2 separate regions of the Homo sapiens genome follow, and region 1 is linked to region 2. Evidence: promoter capture Hi-C in 16 types of primary human blood cells and fetal thymus (Javierre and others, 2016). All regions are on one chromosome and are shown on one strand. The core of a region is centred on a gene start or on the middle of the fragment in contact, and the rest is flanking DNA. Distances in the headings are between cores, read along the strand shown.

Region 1 (3,895 bases), core at 1,000-3,499, 5.7 Mb after region 2:
GAACAAACAGGGAGCCCCTTTTCTGTAAACACTCCTCACTCCTAAGGACTTTGTAATGTTATCGCTCATGGGACAATATTTACAGAACACGTATATTCACAAGCCTCTATTCTGTGCAGGTGCTGTGTCGGACTATGGTTCACAGTGTGGGAGACACTGCTGTGGCCCCCGACATGCCTCCAGGCACTCACCATTCTGCCAAGGGCTTCTTGCTGCAAGGCTTTCTCCAGCTTGATGGGGGCGGGGGTTAAAGTCCCCCCAGAAGAAGCTGTTAACCAATGAGGACTGGGAGTGGCTGGATAAATAACCAGGTCCTCACCCCTCAGCTGGGACGTCTCTGGGGTGTGTTCTACAGTTTCACAGCATCCCCAGAGACGCCGAGCCCTGTGTGCCCACACCAGTCACAGGCTTGATGTTGGTCCCCTTATTGGCTCCTGCTCATCCCACTTCTCCACCAATGTTTCTTATGATTATCCCCCAAATGAATGATTGAACAAACCCTACTGCCAGGATCTGCTTCCGGAAAAAGATAAACAGTGAACAGGATAAAGGAGGTCCCTGTCCCTGGACAGGCCCTTGAGGGCAGCTGGGTCTTCACTGGACCTATGTGTCATTCTAGGCTGCTTGCCCAGCTTAGCACTGTATACCGGGCACTCCACAAACACCGGTGAATGAATGAATGAATGAATGAACGAATGAATTTCCTCCCTGAAACCCAGAGGAAGGAGTGATTGTCCTAAAGGAGTATACCCATGTTCAGAAAGGTTAGATGGCCCAGCCCTGGTCAAGTAGGACTCATTGGTAGCAATTGCCAGCCAGAAGCTGGGATTCTTGACTTTCATTTGAAGCCGGGTCTCACTGCTGGAAAATGACTGAGTGTTCCAGAGTTAATCCAGGTTAATTCCTGCTGATTAATCATTAATGGGCTAAGGAACCGCCAAGATTAAAAATAGGAATGAACAGTTTAATTTCAACCCAATCGCTCTTTATTCCCCATGAAGGCTTGTATTTTTCACATCTTTCTAACAACAGCTAGTACAGTACTAGTGACAAATGGGGACAGGGAAGATTGAAAATTGTCCAAGAAATAGATGTTAGGCACGGGATTCTGCAGCAACAGGAGCTAGGGAAGTGATGGGGGGCAGTCTAGGCAGCCTTTGGTCGCTCAGAATCCAAAATTCCAAAGAAGCTGGCTTTGGCTCAAGTTCAAAGGGTTGGCTTTAAGAGACGCTGACATAATGGTTAAAAATCAAGCCTAAAATTATTTTAATTTAAAGACTTGACTAATTATGAAGACTGAGTGTTGGCTGATATTGGGGAGAAAGTCAGGGAATGAGGAAGTACCAGTTGCTCCGTTTTGTGGGACACGGATGAGTTTTCTTAGGTTAGAACCTCTCACCTTCCCCAACGCATGGAATAAAACGCCACAGAGTGGATTGTAATTATTGCTCTGCCGGCTGTGATTTGGTTGAGTATCTTAAATAGACCGTGCCTCAGTTGTACCCTCCCTAACAACGAGGGCGATGACATCCGCTTCAATTCCTCGTGCACCTTCTGGCTCTTCCACCCCAATTCCTCCATTTACTGAAGGAAATTCCTTCTGGTGCTGATTGCAATCTCTTTGATGATAAGAACTTGCTCTCCCTGGGCTGACCCCCAGCAGAGCTTGTCCTCATACCCGGCGGCCCGAGGGGGCGCTGCTTCGGGGGAAGTTAGTTGGGTTTAAATAAAGCAGCTTCCTTGGCTGTTCGCGGTTGCGCAACCCTGTTCAGCCACCGCCATGTCAGCCCAGCGGTATCCAGAGGCGCAGGCCCGGGGTCGCCGGGACCCGAACCTTCTGCTTCCCGCCTAGGCAGAGCCGGATCCTAGTCAGAGACTGCTGGGAGCGCCGCGGGCCCAGAGTGGGCGGAGCTGGCCGGAGACCCCCCCCTCGGTGGGCGGGGCGTTCCTGCTCCGCCCCGCCCCGCGCACGGCCGAGCGCCGCGCCGCTCGGCCCCGCCTCTCCCCAGCCCTGCCCCCTTCACCTCCCCGCAGCTCCTCCCCTCTCCCATTGGCCGAGGTGGAGACCCTCCTCTCTGCCCAATGGCCGCCGCCGCGGCTCGGCCACCCGCGTCCTGACTGGCCAGCGACCGGCAGAGTGGCGGGGTGCGGACCAATGGGAAGAGGCGGCTCGATGAATGGCTGGCCCGGGTGGGGAAGGCAGGAGGCGGCGATCCCGGCGGAGGGGGCCGTTCGCCAGCTCTGAGGCAGAAAGTGCCACGACTCCACACGCGCGCACGCAGCCAGCGAGCGGCCGGAGCGGACGGCAGACGGGGCGGGCGGCGTCAGGGTCGCAGCGTCTACAGCTGCTCGGGGGCGGTTTCTTGGCGGAGGCTTGGCCGGCTCCTCTCTCCCGGCTCCGCGGCGGCTGCGAAGGCGGCGGCTCCTGCCCTCTCGCTTTCCCTCTCGCGTCTCTGGCTGCAGGTAAGAAACTTGGCCGGGCCCTGCAGCGGCCGCGCGCGGGCCGGGCCGTCGGGGGGCCGGGGCCGGCCGCGCTGCGCCGCGAGTGACACGTCTCCTCGGCGGCCCCTCCCCCGGCCCGCCCGCCGCCCGCCGCCTGCCGCCGCGGCCGTGCACCATCGGGGTCGGGGTCGGACTCGGGGCGGGGGTGCCGGGCAAGCGCCGTACCGGGGCGTAGGCAGGGCGCGCCCCGTGGTGTGGACCCCGCGGCCCTCGCCGTCCGGGGAGCTGCGGCGGCAGACGGGCGCGACGTGGCGACCGCTCCCTGCCTCCCTCCCTCCCGGCAGGGCCGTCGGGCCGGCCAGCGCGCTCCGAAGTTGGGCGAAGAAAGTTGGCGGCGGGGCGGGGCGGGGCGGCGCACAGCTGGCGGAGGAAGGGGTTAAGTTTCGGGAAGCCGCCGGATGACGTTGCCGGGCTGGAGTCCGGGCCGGAGGGGTGGGGTGCGGGCGGAAGGCGGCGGAGGCCGGCCGAGGGGAGGAGGGCGGGATTGAATGGGGGCCCACGGGCCGAGCGCGCCGGTCCCGGGCCGCGGCCCGCTGGCGCTTCGCGGGGCTGGGACGGCCCCCGACGGGGCGGGCCGGGGCCGCAGGGCTCGCGGCGCAGGGACCGGGTCTGTCCATGGCACGGACGCCGGGCGGCCGCGGTGGCAACTTCCCGGAGTGCGGGAGGCGGCTCCCTGCTCCCCCTGGCGGCGGGGCCGGGGCCACCGTTTCCCCGGCTGGGCTGCGCGGAGCCTGGCTCGAGGGCTCCCGGCGGGGGGACGAGGGCGCCCGGGGCCCGGCCCGCCCCGCCCGCGGCCACGATGAATGGGCCGGCGGTGCCAGCCCCGGGCGGAAGCGGACACCTCCGGGCCGGCCAAGCGCGCTGGCACCCGGCCTGGTGCCCGCCCCGGCCCGGCCGGCTCTCCCGCTGCGCCCTGATTAGGGGAGGCAGGCCGGGGTCTGCGCTTCCAGTGGGGCGCCCGCAGTGCTTCAGGGACCCCTCTCCGAATGATAAGTCGCGAGTTTTAGCTCTAGAGTGCCCCGGCTGGCGAGGGTGACCCCGACCAAGTTGTTTCGTTCGGGGTCTCCATTTCCTGGTCTGCAAATCGGGGCTCCTGTTAGCTTCGATTTGCGAGGAAAGCTGTGGAGACCCAGCACTTGTAGGAAGGAGCCACAAGTGTTGGCTGTTCAGTTGGGATGCTTTTGTTGGGGGGTGCTGGACACGGGAGGAAGGTGGGGCCTGGCTCCGGCACTGCGGCGGGCGCGGGGCTGCAGAAGTTGCACAGCCGGGGTTCTACACCCCGGACCACGTACTGGCCGCCTACTCGCAGGTCCCATAGCCCCTCTGAATCCTAGTTTCTTATCTGTGGCCTGAAGACAGCACCACCCACTCACAGGGTCGGGAACCACGCCGG
Region 2 (4,054 bases), core at 1,552-4,051:
GGGAGTTAATGCCCCTGTCTCCCAGTTTTAATGGGGGAGTAGGAGCCTAACTTCAGTGGGCCCTTTGCTCCAACTTACAAAATTATCTCATATCATAAAGATACAAGTTTCTTTTTCCTCTAGATAAAGCCAATTGGCTAACACAGAGGATCATCCCAAATATCAGGTTAGATGAACTGTGTGTGATGAAAAATGCTGCCAAGTTCCCTTGAGAGCTAGTTATTGTTTATCTTGAAAATGTGTGTAATAGATTGCTTGGCTGCACAAAAGAGTGAGATTTCGTTCTGTCTTTGCAGTCTCTTAATGGATTGCCTGTGATGGGTATCACATTCTAGTTTAATGCTTATTCAATTACAAAGTGTTTTCTTTCTCCACTACCTTTCTGAAGAGGGTTGGGAGATTGTACTTTTAATTATATTTCCTGAACAGGAGCCAGCTTCCCACACATAGTAGGTGCTCAATAAATATTTGAAGAATGAATGAGTGACAGAAATCTTTCTTAGGCCGACTCTCTATATTTGCATTCCATGATTTGAAGAAATTGGAATGAACGCAGTTTTCACCCATGGCTCCAGCAGGCCCAGAATCGTGTTTTATGATTTTGTTTTGCATTACAAAAAGGTGGTCAGGCACGGTGGCTCACGCCTGTAATCCCAGCACTTTGGGAGGCCGAGGCGGGCCGATCACTTGAGGTCAGGAGTTGAAGACCAGCCTGGCCAACATGGTGAAACCCCGTCTCTGCTAAAATACAAAAATTAGGCCAGGTGCGGTGGCTCACACCTGTAATTCTAGCACTTTGGGAGGCTGAAGTGGGCGGATCACCTGAGGTCAGGAGTTCAAGACCAGCCTGGACAACATGGTGAAACCCTTTCCCTGCTAATAATACAAAAATTAGCTGGGCGAGGTGGTACATGCCTTTAATCCCAGCTATTCAGGAGACTGAGGCAGGAGAATCGCTTGAACATGGGAGGCAGAGGTTGCAGTGAGCGGAGATTGCACCACTGCATTCCAGCCTGGGCAACAGAGGAAAACTCTGTCTCAAAAAAACAAAACCAAATTAGCCGGGAGTGGTGACAGGCACTTGTAATCCCAGATGCTCAGGAGGCTGAGGCAGGAGAATCACTTGAACCCAGGAGATGGAGGTTGCAGTGAGCTTCGATCATGCCATTGCACTCCAGCCTGGGCAATAGAATGAGACTCCGTCTCCGATTATGTTAGCTAGCATAACATAATGCTAGCTTATCCATTCAATACTGAAAGGATTGCTTTAGTTGAGTGTCTTAATAGCTTTAAAAATAGAGGTCATAAGACTCACAGACTCTTTGTGGCAATACTAAATGATAAAGAATGAAGGGCCATGCCTGGCAAGGGTTGTCATGCACCTCTACACTTCAAGAAGAAACTATGCCTTAACTGCCACAAGGTTTTTATTCTCTGGCAGCCAAACAAGCACTGGCCTCTAGATAAGCAATATTCAAACAATGTGCTTTTCATCCACCTCCACATGCTGACTGACACGCCCCCTGCCCCAGCCCCACCACTTCCACAAATAATTACTGCTTTGATTGGACCAGAGACTGACTGCAGTAACTTTTTCCTGATGGGAAACAACCGAACAGGGGCTGATTCTGGCGGTTTACAGAGGCTGCACACAAGTGCATCGGTGTCCTGAAAAGATCTTTCAACTTATAGGGTCTAAATGTAATACATGAATACCTGTAAATGCTAAGAGTCCACCCCAAAGTAAACATAGGTCACCTGTAACATGCACGTTTGTCCAGTAAGCATGGGTCAGGACCCGTTTCATGAATATTCATAGCTCTTCCTGTGGCCTGTTCATATGTGTACTTGGCTAAGTCCTTCAGCTTAAATTCCTGTCTTAGGCCCCCTTCCCTCCAGCTGCCTGCCTTTTGAGCTTCTGCCAGAAGCTATGCTTCCCAGCCTGTCAGAAGGGCCACCTTGCAGGTTATCACCGTTTAAAGAAATAAAGCTCTCCTTTCTATGTTTGTGATCTTTTTTTTAAATAATACAAATAGACAATTCACTTGACAGTGTGAATGGCATACTTCACTGACAATGGAATACTATAAAAACAATAATAAACCACTGATAAACATCAACCTGACAAAGTTAAATATAGTGTTTCATGCTGTAGAACTCTGCACGAGAAAAGTACACGGGAGTGAACAATTGTTACGTAAGGGCGTTCACTGCAGTGCACTTACATTAGTGAAACTTTGGAAACAATCTCACCTATAAGGAGATGGCCGAAGAATTTGATATATCCAAGCACTGGATTATTATGCCGGTCATTAAAACAATGTTTAAAAATATGTGTAATAGCTTGGGGAAATGCTCACCATGTTATAATGAGTAAAGACGGTACACTATTTTACATAGGGTCTGATGTGATTTGAAAACAAATCTATAGAAATAGACTGGAAAGAAATGTATCAAATTCTAAACTGCACAAGGAAGAACACTGACGCACGCGCAACGCCGGCGCCCTGCCCACTAGGCGCCCTCGCTGCCCCTCACCTGCACAGCCGGCGCACGCCCACAGGCTCGTGAGGGAGCGGCCGGTGGGTCAGGCTGGGCGGCACTCCTCGCCCATTGGCTGTCCCGGAGTCCGGCCCCGCCTCTCCCCGCCTTCTGGAGCCGCTGGTATAGCTCCTTCCAGGGCTCCTTGGAGACGGAGGGCGGGGCTAGGGCGCCGGAGTCACGTGGTCGCGCCACCGCGCGATTACTAGCTGTCAAAAGAGTCCTCAGAAGTGTCCTGAGCGGTCGCAGGGTAATGACGTCGGCCGTATCGGGGATGCTGGAACCTGCGGTTGAGTGAGAAACCGGCGCCACCGCCTGCGTCTTGGTCTCGGGCTGGTGGCCAGCGGGGTCTGGGCGTGGTTTTACCCAGCTCCTTTGCGAAGCTGCTGTCCTTTCCTCAACGTTACCACCCGGCTGGGCAGCCTACCCTCGGTCAGTACGTCCTGGCAAGAGCGCTTCGGGCGTGGCGTTCGTGTCGCGGGGGCCTCGGCTCAGAAGCGAGGGAAGAGCAGCCCTCAGAGGAGCGGCGACCGCGCTTACCGGGAGCCCGGGTTGGGAGAGGGCTCCCCAGGAGGGGTGTGAGCTCCGAACGAGAAAGAACGCCACCGCCTCGTGGGGTCTCTTCCTAATGTGCAGATTCCAAATCTCTACAATGCTGCAAAAGAGGTTACAGTCCACATCAAATTAAGCATGCCCTAAAGGGCAGCTGGGGTTCAGTTCAAGAGTTGAGTTTTAACACACACCTTTACCTGCCTTAAAATTGGGCAAGGTATCACAACGTTAAACCATTTCTCACAAGGCTCGTTGGTGATGTTTAAGATTTTTTGTTTGTTTGTTTGTTTTTTGTTACGGAGTCTCGCTCTGTCGCCCAGACTGGAATGCAGTGGCGCGATCTTGGCTGACTACAACCTCCGCCTCCTGGGTTCAAGCGATTGTCCTGCCTCAGCTTCCTGAGTAGCTGGGATTACAGGCGCCTGCCACCACGCCCAGCTAATTTTTCTATTTTTAGTAGAAACGGGGTTTCGCCTTGTTGGCCAGGCTGGTCTTAAGTTTTGCATCCTGGCTCCCTCCTCTTACCTAGTCCCAGCCTCTTGTCTACAGGACAAAGCAACTTTCTGCAGTTTTCTGTTTGCTCTTTAGAGAGACGGGGCCCTAATTTGGCAAAGTGGTAGGGGAGACAGGGCTGGTGTTTAAGGTCGACCAAAGCAACATCTAAATCTCTGCTCTTCCCCCAAATTGTCCAAATTAGCAGCAACAGGTGTGCACCTTCCAAGCTTGCAACAGACCACATTCAGAAGCTTGATTTCTTGTTGTTCTGGGAATATCTGGATCAGAGGTAACATGGTTCACTAGGACTCCTCAGCTTCACCCAGTGTCCATTTCACCTCCCCCGGCCTTCCAATGTCTCTTCTTGCAGATTTCTCCAAGCCACTCTCCCCGTCATCTCCTCCACCCCCAGGACCCAACTCCTGCCCCTCCCACCCTAGCCCCTGTTCTCCCTGCCCACCTCCTA

Evidence for each region. Contacts are between HindIII fragments. The CHiCAGO score rates a contact against its expected background, and 5 or more counts as called.
Region 1: the fragment with the promoter of RRBP1 here is called in contact with the fragment with the promoter of LINC01431 in region 2 in 3 of 17 cell types (non-activated CD4 T cells, naive CD8 T cells and total CD8 T cells); the score reaches 9.5 in non-activated CD4 T cells.

Annotation. Positions count from the first base shown.
Region 1 is chr20:17,680,596-17,684,490 of GRCh38, reverse strand. RRBP1 (ribosome binding protein 1) reads left to right here and starts at 2,249. Exons shown (of 25, transcript NM_001365613.2): 1 at 2,249-2,463. RefSeq lists enhancers at 1,579-1,638, 2,892-3,564, 3,756-3,895 and silencers at 1,919-2,338, 2,569-2,898, 2,929-2,978, 3,009-3,318. The HindIII fragment of the contact is 11,518 bases long and covers 1-3,895 here.
Region 2 is chr20:23,356,874-23,360,927 of GRCh38, reverse strand. It overlaps LINC01431 (long intergenic non-protein coding RNA 1431), which reads left to right and starts at 2,801. Exons shown (of 3, transcript NR_109884.1): 1 at 2,801-2,973; 2 at 3,791-3,877; 3 at 3,959-4,054. RefSeq lists a silencer at 2,466-2,655 and enhancers at 2,706-3,095, 3,286-3,375. The HindIII fragment of the contact is 4,137 bases long and covers 1-3,817 here.